Linked DNA regions of Homo sapiens: region 2 is linked to region 1. Evidence: promoter capture Hi-C in human tissues and cell types (Jung and others, 2019). All regions are on one chromosome and are shown on one strand. Each heading gives the region's core, a stretch centred on a gene start or on the middle of the fragment in contact. The rest is flanking DNA. Distances are from core to core; before and after follow the strand shown. Region 1 holds the start of STEAP1 (STEAP family member 1). Region 2 overlaps GTPBP10 (GTP binding protein 10).

Region 1 (5,579 bases), core at 991-3,490:
GGGGGATAGGGTTTTGAGGTGAAACTGTTCCACCTCAGATCATCAGGCAATAGTTAGATTCTCATAAGGAGCACACAACCTAGATCCCTTGCATGTGCAGTTTGCAATAGGGTTCATGCACTTAGGAGAATCTAATGCCACTGTTCATCTGACAGGAGGTGGAGCTCAGGCAGTAATGCTCGCTGGCCTGCCACTCCCCTCCTGCTGTGCAGCCCAGTTCCTAAAAGGACACTGACTGATACCAGTCTGCGGCCACGGGGTTGGGTACCCCTGCACTAACGTGACAACAGCACCAAGGGGGGATGGTGTTAAACCATGAGAAACTGCTCCCATGGTCCAATCACCTCCCACCAGACCCCAGCTCCCTCACTGGGGGTTACATTTCAACATGAGATCTGAGGGAGAGACACAGCTCCAAACCATATCACCAACATAATAGTTTGTGGGGTGGGGGAGGGAGGTGCTAGGAATGGAAGTGTCACCTACTATAATCAAATGTAAGAAATAATTCACTATGTTTAGAAGATCTTTTAACTTTGAGGGTTGCAGTATCGTAAGGATGCTAACAAATCCACCTACATTTATTCAATATGAATTCATTAACTATATTGTGAACAACAATGTAAGGCAGGAGGAATGCAAAGTTAAATGAGATAAAGCCTCTGCTCTGAAAAACCTTGAGGTCTAGGAGAGAAGGCAGGCATTTCAACTGCATGGTAGAGCGATGTATCCTAGAGGAGGATAAAGTTTTACAGGCAGATGGTGGCATGGGAAGGGAAGTAGAGGAAAAGGCTCAGCGCTGTCTTCTAGACCCAGTCCTGGGGTAGCTAGCAGGTTGGCAGTGTTTGCTGACTGATGGCCACTACAAACGGAGTCTGGGTGGAAAACCAGAGTGGCCCTGGAGAGTTACCCAGCCATTTGTCTGCATGGTAAGGAGACCACACTCAAGAGCAAAGCCAAGGAAAAGCCCATGACAGTGAGGAAGCTTGTTGACTGTGTGGCCCACAGTCAACTCTATGCCCATAAGCCAGGAAAATAAACTATGAGTCAAATAAATTTGTTGGTTTCCATCAGACATTAACCAAAATGAAATTTAAGTTCTACAGTAAAATCTTTTCATAAAAAGAAAAATAACAGAAAACAACCTGGTGTTAAAATGTTAGGAACTCCAGAATTCGACCCAAAGTTCTCTTTCACCCCCTTTTAAAAAAAGTGAAGCATATTTCTAATGCGACTGCTGTTTTGCTGTACCAGGATGGCTGCCCTGGTGTTCCTAAATGTTGGCACAGCCCAACTTACTCATGTTTATGTCCCGCAGTTGAGAATATGAAGAAACCCAATGCCTGGAATACACTGTGGGTTGCATTGCATTTCCAACCTTTTATACTTTCAAGTGCACACTTGTTTTACATTTAACTAAGTGAAGTCGAGTTTTTTGTTTTTTTTTTTCACTGGGCTGTTTTTAAGCATTGCTTTCCCTCTGTGCTTAACATTCATGTTAAATGAATAACCTTTTATTACACGTCAGGATGTGGAGGGAAATGTATTTTACAAAAGTAACAAAGTAAGAAATTTGGAAGTGTACAAAAAATTTATGTCTACAAACACCTTCCAGTGGATTTGACCAGAATTACATATTTAAAGCCTTGATTGACTATTTTGGAGGGAACCTGAACCCCACCCAGATCCTGAAAGAGTAGGGCCAGTGTTCTAAGGACTAAAAATGAAAACCTCTGTTACCAGGAAACCCGAAGACGAGAAGTAGCACGATTTTAAGTACTGTGCACCAGTCATTCGTCAATGCACAGCAAACTCTGGCAACTTTGCCACGTTAAAAAACTTGCCATCAAAATCCAACCTGAGCACAAACTTAATAATCTACCACAACCTTAAGCCCCTAGCGAAAAGGCTTCCTGTGAGTCCCTGGCTCTCCCCAACCCCCGGCCCGGCCACAACCCAGCTGGGCTGGAAGGCAGCGCGCCCCAGAGCCGCGCATAAGCGGAGAATTGAGCAGCGCTCGCCCAGGAGGGCCGCTGTCCAGGTCACGAGAAGGCTTGCGACCCGCTACACCCCTCCCAAGACTGGGAGCGGGCGCCCAGCCTTGCAGGGACACGCGGGCGGACTCGAGGAGCAAACGGCCAGTGAGAACGATTCAAGGGACTCACCCACTCTTCGCCTTAGCTTGACCGTGAGTCTCGGCTGCCGCTGCTGCCCAGAGGTGCGGGCCCCACGCGGCGCCTGAGCCTCCAGAGCGCGGAGCCTCCAAGCCAGCTGCAGGCCCCGCCTCCTTGTCCGTTGCGCGTCCAGCGCCACCTGCTGGCGCCCCGCGTCCGCAGGGTTCCGGAACGTCCTTGGAGGCTAAGACTCCCCAAGTCGCACTCCGGCCTCTCCCAGTTTCCTCTCAAATGCCGTCTGCCCTGCACCTGAGGTCCGTTTCGCGCCCTCCAACCCCTCGCCTTTTGTTTAATCTCCACTAAGGAACGTTTGTGCATTTCTCTAGAGCAGTGGTTCTCAGACTTTAGCGTGTATAAGATTACCCGGGGGCTTATTAAAACACCGATTGTTGGGCTGTCCGCCCACAGTTTCCGGTTCAGTATGTCTGGGATGGGGTCTGAGATTCTCATTTGTAACAAGTTCCCATGAGATATGGAAGCATTCCCAGATCACACTTTGAGATAGACCGTTTAGAGCTTACAAACCCTCCCACACGTTAGCTTATTTATTTTTATTTTATTTTTATTTTTTTTGAGACGGAGTCTCAGTCTGTTGCCCAGGCTGGAGTGCGGTGGCGCGATCTTGGCTCACTGCAACCTCCAGCCCCGGGTTCAAGCGATTCTCCTGCCTCAGCCTCCCGAGTAGCTGGGATTACAGGCGCCTGCCACTGTGCCCGGCTAATTTTTGTATTTTCAGCAGAGACGGGGATTTCACCATCTTGGCCAGGCTGGTCCTGAATTCCTGACCTCGTGATCCACCCGCCTCGGCCTCCCAAAGTGCTGAGATTACAGGCGTGAGCCACCGCGCCCAGCCACCTTATTTAAAACCTAACAGCCGGTCCTGAAGTGGCTGTGATTGACAGTTTGAGGAATCCGAAGCTGAATTTCTGAGAGTGACTTGCTCCCTGAATTGTTCAAATTGTGTACCTTTAATCGCACAAACCCTGCTCCCCAGCCGAAAAAAAAACCCTTAAACCCCATGTTTACTCCGTCCCTCCCTTCCTTGCCTTAGCTTTTAAGTGCAGCTTCCCATATCCTAGCTCAATGAAGTATTCCAAACCTAAAGTAAAGTTAACTGTTAATATTCCAAGGTTTTAGAAAAAGACAACTTGAGCAGGGGATTTACTTCTCTCCGTTGGAACCAGCCTCAAGATAGGGTCTGAGACATGAATTGCAAAATTCTGGGGATTTGGTATACAACATTCTCAGGACTAAGCTGAGTAGAAAACACAAAGGAAAATAAACGCGCAACCACATTTTCCATGATTGTTTTTTATTCACTGCTAGGGCACCGAAGACTGTTCATGTTTTTTTTTTTTTTTTTTTTTTTTTTTTACTTTTTTTTTTTTAATTATTATTATTTTTTTTTATTGATCATTCTTGGGTGTTTCTCGCAGAGGGGGATTTGGCAGGGTCATAGGACAATAGTGGAGGGAAGGTCAGCAGATAAACAAGTGAACAAAGTTCTCTGGTTTTCCTAGGCAGAGGACCCTGCGGCCTTCCGCAGTGTTTGTGTCCCTGAGTACTTGAGATTAGGGAGTGGTGATGACTCTTAACTAGCATGCCGCCTTCAAGCATCCGTTTAACAAAGCATGTTTTAATATAAGTATTTTCTGTAGTCACTGACTTTCCTTGGATTAGTTTAAAGCCCTTTGAAGCTTAAATTACCGTGGACTGACACCTTGTGGTGGAAATAGAATCTTACACCTGTTGTTTCTAGTGAAACTAGAAAATAATTTAAAAGTTTTAGAAAAGAAATCTGTGTAATCTTTGTATGTGTAGCACAGACTACAAAGAATTAAGACTTTTTAACTAAGCATTGTTGAGTTTTAAAAGTGATCATGGGTCTTAAATGGTCAGACAAAACGATATGCTTTTATTGTTTAACATTTGGTAGAACAAAGGTCATTCTGTTTTTCACAATCTATTTTCCATATGAAAAGGGCAAAGAGTTATTATTGTGTTAACATAATAATATATATTCATATGAATATGGCTATATAGCAAGCTGCACTTAAAACTGCTTTTCCTTTTCTAATTAAAACATTTAAAATCAAACCCCAAATATTTTTGTTTTATAATTAGACTTTAGCAATTTTATTTCTGCACTTCTTATAAAAGGTTTTTTTGCCCAATATTTTAGTGTGGAGAATAAATAGAGTATGTTCCAAAGTAAAATGATTAAAAGTGTGAGATTATTTATCAATTAGTTTGTAGATATTATAAAAGAAACACAATATTCGATTAAGAAAAACATATTACTAAAAAGCTTTTATTGAGTTGCCAGGAGTTAGTATCATAGATGAACTATCTGCAATTTTTGCATACAAATAACCTGTAATTTGAGGTGTGAGATAAAGAAAAAAAATTTTTGTGGTGGGGGCGGGTAATACAATGCCAGAGCATCTCAGAATGCTGAGTCAGCCTCTTTAGCACATACTTTTAAAAACAAGTGTGGCTTGTGGAAAGCCACATTATGCTATTGCAAATGTTGAAAGGCAAGTTGCTAGTTTTGCTGTGACTCTAAACAACTAGAGGATTTAAAATGGGAGTTCGCCCATGAGTTACCAATAAATTTGGATCTTTCAGAATATTCTGTAATAAACTTAAACTATAGTGAGAGCGCATATTAACATAATGGACCTCAGTGTTATTTGAGGTCAAATACTAAACTGGTGACTTCATAATAACATGCTGTGGAGAAAATATAATTTAGAATCCACGAGTATTTTTGCCTGTCAAATAAGCAACCTGATCTTAGAACCTGATGAGACGACCATTTTAAAAGTAAATGAAATACTATGGTGTGAGAGATAAAATAAAAAATATCATACTATTAAAGATAATCACAATGAGAAATAGACAGTAAATTTTAAGTGAATGACAAGAATTATATTAAGTTTTTTCCTTTGGAAATCTAACTCCTGAAGGGACAGCAATTTAAGTAATGATCAACACTATTTCCAAGTCTGCCTCTTACGAAAGAAGAATGGTCAGACTTTTATTTTAAACGACTGCAAAAATTACCTAAGTTCAAGAAGAAATATTTGTCAAAATGATGTTTTAAGACAGACATGATAAGGCTTCACTGGCCAAAATTTCTGATTCTGTTAACCTCATATGATACATTCTCTTTACTAGTTCAAGATCTACTGTAATCTTCAAAGTATGTGGTCAGTTTGTCCCTCGTGTCTGCGTTTAAAAGTGGTTGGGGGTAGAGAGGAGGTCTGTTCTTGGGACTGGAGGTTTTAACTATTCTTCTGAATTCTTTCTCCCAAACTCAAAGTCCCTTATTGCTCTTTCACCAAGACAGGCAACAGTAAACATCTTTTCAGGTAGGTTGTAAGAGTAGGTGCTTCATTTCCA
Region 2 (5,078 bases), core at 785-3,284, 200 kb before region 1:
TTGAATGCCCTTTTTTTCTCTTGCCTGATTGTTCTGGCTAAGACTTCTCTTTGCACACATCTTTGATTTCTTTCTTGGAATAAATGTCTACATGAAGAAATACCAGATAAAATACATGCTCATTTTAAAGGCTTTGATTATACTGCTAAATTTCCCTCAAGAAAGGCCCACCATGTATGAAAGACAGTACTAGGAATGGGGGTTACTTAAAACATTCATTGCTAAATCTCATTCATATATTTTCATTAAATTTATCCAACAAATATTTATTGAGCACTGACTTCGTATCAGGCAACATACTGAGCAATGAGACAAAATGATTCCCGCCTTCACAGAGTTCTTATTCAAATTTGAAGACGGTACTTCAAAAACTCTGCCAAACTTTCATTTGGAATAATGGTGGAATATTCTGCAAATATTAATTTGGAATTTTATAAAAGCGTATTAGCTGGAGGTATTTCAACAATTTCCCTCATTAAAAAAATCTTTCTGTCATGAATTTAAAATAAAATTATGTGAGGTTTCTTAATGACTTGTTTCTCCTGGAACATATAGTTTTTTCATACCCTGTTTCATCCAGGTTCTTATAGCTTTTGAAAAGCAAATTGCAGCTGTTTTTATCCATAATTATCACTAGCTGGACTTGCTTGTTTCCAACATCCTCATATTTTCATAATGATTGAGCACATAATGCAAGCAACTATTTCCAAGAAGATCAAAGTATGAATAGAAAGATGATGCTAATGACTGAATAACAGATATTTGAAATTTTTCTTGAAAAGTACCCAGTGAAAATTTTACAGGCTAAAATCCAACCTATGCAAAGATCAGATCTGACAACAGCAGCACAAATCTGTTAGTTGTACAATAACTTTCTTCTGTGATTCAGTCCATTTCCAAAACCAGCTAAAAGGATATCTACTTATGCTAGTATTCATAGTAGTAACTCTTCAAGAATAGTTGCCTAATTTAAAAACACTAGAAAATATGTTAAACATTCCACTTAAAAATCTTTTTCCCCCATTCTTGTTTGATATGCTTAAGAATCTTGATGCTTTAATTACAGACAAATTTCAAACCTACTTCTGAAAAGCCTAGTATTTCATTATATGCAGTTTTCCAGTAAGTTGGCAATATAATGATGATGAAGATAGCAGCTACAATTCATTGAACGTACAAAAATGCAAAGCATGTATTCTGCTGTAAATGCATTATCTTACCCACCAACATTTTAAGGAAAGACTTATCTCCATACACTATTAAAGATGAGAAAACAAATGACGTGGTGAAAAGCAAAAAACTATAGTGAAGGAAGAATGAGAGAAAAGAAAAGAAAAAAAGAAGAGAAAACAAAGGCTTAGAGAGGCTGTGTAATTTACCCAAGACCAGCTGGCCAGCCTCCAGAGGATTTGAGATCCTAACCTAAATAGTCTAACCTGAGTCCTCCATGCCACTCCACTTTTATGACTAAGCCGTGCTAGGCTCCTCTTAGACTGTAAAGTTGTCTCTTCAGAACTTGAAACACATGTTTATGCAAAATGCAACTGTGATTGGCTGGACTGCCAGTCTTGTCCATAAGACCCTATTAAGCCCATAATGTTCCTAAAAATATAGAGGATTATAGAACTTACATCTAATAACTCTTGTAACTGTGCTTTATTGAAAAAAATAAATGTAAATGGCAAGCCAGGATCACATCTTTCCTTGTTATAATTTTAGCAGGAATGGGGCCTCTGTGAACCCTAAACCAATGGTGGTAAGCTCTAGTGGCTGGTCAGGCAGGGCAAAAGACGAGGGATACAGACTTAAGAGTCTGGTAAAGAAGCAGTGAGATGACTGAAGAGGAACATGAAAAGAACTTAGAAAGAAGCTATGGGGAAGCAAAAAATAGAACTAGGAATTTGGAGTAGGACAGTAATAAGGCAGTTTTCCTTATCTTGTCCTTAAGCTTTCCATCTGAATAACTGTGTAATACTGTGATAGGGCCAGAGGGAGAGGATAGGAGGGAGGGGGGATGGGGGAGAGAGAGCAAATGCAAATTGAAGTTTTCTCTTCCTTTATGTATTCTGTATCTTACTATCTATCCCCTTCCAGTGGGCAGCTGCACTGCAAACCCCACAGCTAAACAGCATTATTTAATGAAAGAATGGAGGCTGGTGGAAGAGGACACTCTTGTGAGGCCTACATTGCTGAGACTAGATAGATCCTAAGCAGAGGCAAGAAGGATATACAGTCATAGCAGGATTCAATTTGGCGGCAACAGTGCGTAAGTCTGAGGATTGAGATTGTCTGTACTGGTCTTTAGCCATTTGATTAACGATACTTTAATGTCTCTATTAAGACCCAAAAGAGTTATGTCAACCATTTTTCCCTGTTTATTTCCTTCTATATATTTTTAATAATAATACGGTTTGTTTGGATTTATTATTAATATCTGGTAACATTATTTAACCATCTTGTAATATTGCATTTGATTGATTTTTCTTTCTTTATGCATTCTCTAACATTCCCACTGATCTATTCAATTGCTCTGGTCTTAATTTTATAAATAAGCAATAACTATGAAACTCTGTGTTGGCAATTTGAAAATAATATTTAGCAGCATATTTTCCAAGTACATACACAACACACAAATTCCATAAATTAGAAATAATTATGGCCCCAAATTACCATTTACATTTATTTTCTATTCAAGAACTCTCTCTCTGAAAGTATAATAATAAAAATATGAACGATACTTACCCTACTAGGCCTACATCAGCTATAAGTTTTAGATCAAGGTGAATTATTCGTTTCTGGCCTTTCAATGGTAAGAAATTTGTAAGTAATTTACCACCAAGACCTCCTTGAGCTACCAAAATTCTGTCATTTTCTTTATTGAGTTCTCCTTAAAAAGAGGGAGAGAAATACTTACAGCAAAGATTAATAAGTGAAATCACTAATGCAATATATTTCTTTCAGAAATACAGGCAAAGAAATGCAAAATTACAAATCTATAGATTAGTAAGTGAAATCATTAATGTAATATTTTACTTTCAAAAATACATGCCAGGAAATTCTCAATTACAAATCTATAATTAATAAGTAGAATCATTAATGTAATATTGTTCTTTCAGAAAAACAGTCCAGGAAATTCCAATTTACAAATCTATTAAAAGTTTGACCCCAGAAAAACACTTCAGTAAACAATTGAAAAGAGCCTAGTTATATATTTTAAGACCAAGTAAGAACTGTAACATCTTTAAAACAATCTTAAATCTAGCAGTCAATTTAACTTTTATAAGTTTTAAAAATGCTCTCTTATAGAATAGTAGCTAAAATTGTTAGTTAAAAAATCTTCTGAAACTCAAGAGAAGCTATTCCATTGTTTCATTTTAGAAAACGTGCACATTTTTACAACTTTTGGAGTTATAGTACACTCACCTATAATTTTACCATTTTCATCAGTTACTGAAATACCCACAGGCACAGGGATTTCACAGTCTTTTCCTTTGGAGCCTTTCAGTGCACTAATTCTACCAAAAAAAAAGTATATATATGTATGTATGTGTGTGTGTATATATACACACACACACATACACACAAAATGGTTTACAAAGAAGAGTAGCAATCAATTCTCTGGTTAACGCAGATGTTAAATGGTCAAACACGGGGTTTAAAAAAACTAAAATTATCCCTAATTATTTCTTTGCATTTTAGACTATTATATCCCACTAAAATGGCATTAAGTAATGATTTAAGTTACTAAGCTAACCACCAAAGGTCATTTTAACCCGAAACTAAAATATTGCAACCATGAAATGAAGAGATTATTGCTACAATACAAATAGGGTAGAAAAAGCCAGGCGTGGTGGCTCACGCCTGTAATCTCAGCACTTTGGGAGGCGGAGGCAGGAGGATCTCTTGAGTCCAGGAGTTCAAGACAAGCCTGAACACCATAGCACGACCCCATTTCTACAAAAAAAGAAAAATTTAAAAATTAGCTGGGCATGGTGGCACATACCCGTAGTCTCAGCTACTTGGGAGGCAGAGGTGGGAGGATCACTTCAGCCTGAAAGGTAGAGGCTGCAGTGAGCTATGATAGTGCCCACTACACTCAACCTAGGCAACAGAATGAGACTCTGTCTCAAAAAAAAAAGAAAAAATGAATCTATAAAAAAAAAAAGAAAATCCACCAAATAGCAAAGCTTTTAAAAAACTAACCTCAAATGAGAGTACTTACATTATAGAAGGCAAATCTGGCTACTCTTAAACTGCTCATAAAAGAAAAAATTAGTACAAATGTTTTAGTAATTCTACTTCTGGGAATTTATCAAAATAATAATTGAACAAACATGTAAAATAGTATCTACACAGAATGCTGCACTGTGGTTATAATCGGAAAAAAAAATCAACAATAACCTAAATAGACAAATGACAAAATAGTTATTTATTATGCAGGTATTCTGAATAATTTTGACATGTGAAAAAAAGTAAAAATAGCAGATTGTAAAATACTGTACTCTCATTTTTGTATTCTAAACTTTTAGGCACATAATTGCATTTGTGTAAACACACAGAAAAGTCTTAGAAAAGTCAAGAAAAGGTTAATAGTGGTTATCTTGCCTTCTAATGGTGGTGGGGTAGAGTAGCATGGTTAAGACTGAAAGTTTTCTAAAAGGTTGTCAAAGATAATTTTAGAAGAAAACAGTGGGAATTCAGATAATTATCGGTTTCTACAGGGGAAGTGCAAAAAGAATACAGATAGACATTGGGAAAAGAAACGGACAGAAAGTTTTAAAACTCTGAAATATTCTTTAGTATCAGTCTTTTATGAGTTGAGACATTTTAGGCTTTTGCTTGGTTATAAATACAGGAAATAATTTACTTCAAATTAACAATTAAGTTTTTATTTTGTAACTAAAAAAAAAATTTCCAGAAGGGTTTGATTTTCTAAAATTTAAGTCATTCAGTAATTACTTACTTGCTGTTTGCTCCTACTCCAGCCACAAACCGTTTCCGAGGATACCTGTCTTTAAGTTGTTTTAAAGTCATTCTGTTCTGGGCTACAACCCAGACATCACCACCTTTTCCACCTT

The links. The method cuts DNA at HindIII sites, captures the fragments that hold promoters and counts their contacts. A contact is called where the count stands out against the background at its distance.
Region 2: a fragment that was not itself captured here is called in contact with the fragment with the promoter of STEAP1 in region 1 in 1 of the 25 tissues and cell types used here (aorta).

What each region holds. Positions count from the first base shown.
Region 1 is chr7:90,151,130-90,156,708 of GRCh38, reverse strand. It overlaps STEAP1 (STEAP family member 1), which reads right to left and starts at 2,240. Exons shown (of 5, transcript NM_012449.3): 1 at 2,166-2,240. The region is part of intron 2 of STEAP2-AS1 (STEAP2 antisense RNA 1); the gene reads left to right. RefSeq lists an enhancer at 3,484-4,024. The HindIII fragment of the contact is 4,545 bases long and covers 1-4,177 here.
Region 2 is chr7:90,352,895-90,357,972 of GRCh38, reverse strand. GTPBP10 (GTP binding protein 10) reads right to left here. Exons shown (of 10, transcript NM_033107.4): 2 at 4,964-5,078; 3 at 3,424-3,515; 4 at 2,743-2,887. LOC107986715 (a long non-coding RNA gene) reads left to right here. Exons shown (of 4, transcript XR_001744961.2): 1 at 1-2,266. Among named protein-coding and RNA genes, the nearest start is that of GTPBP10, 8.7 kb to the right of the region's middle. The HindIII fragment of the contact is 5,652 bases long and covers 1-4,860 here.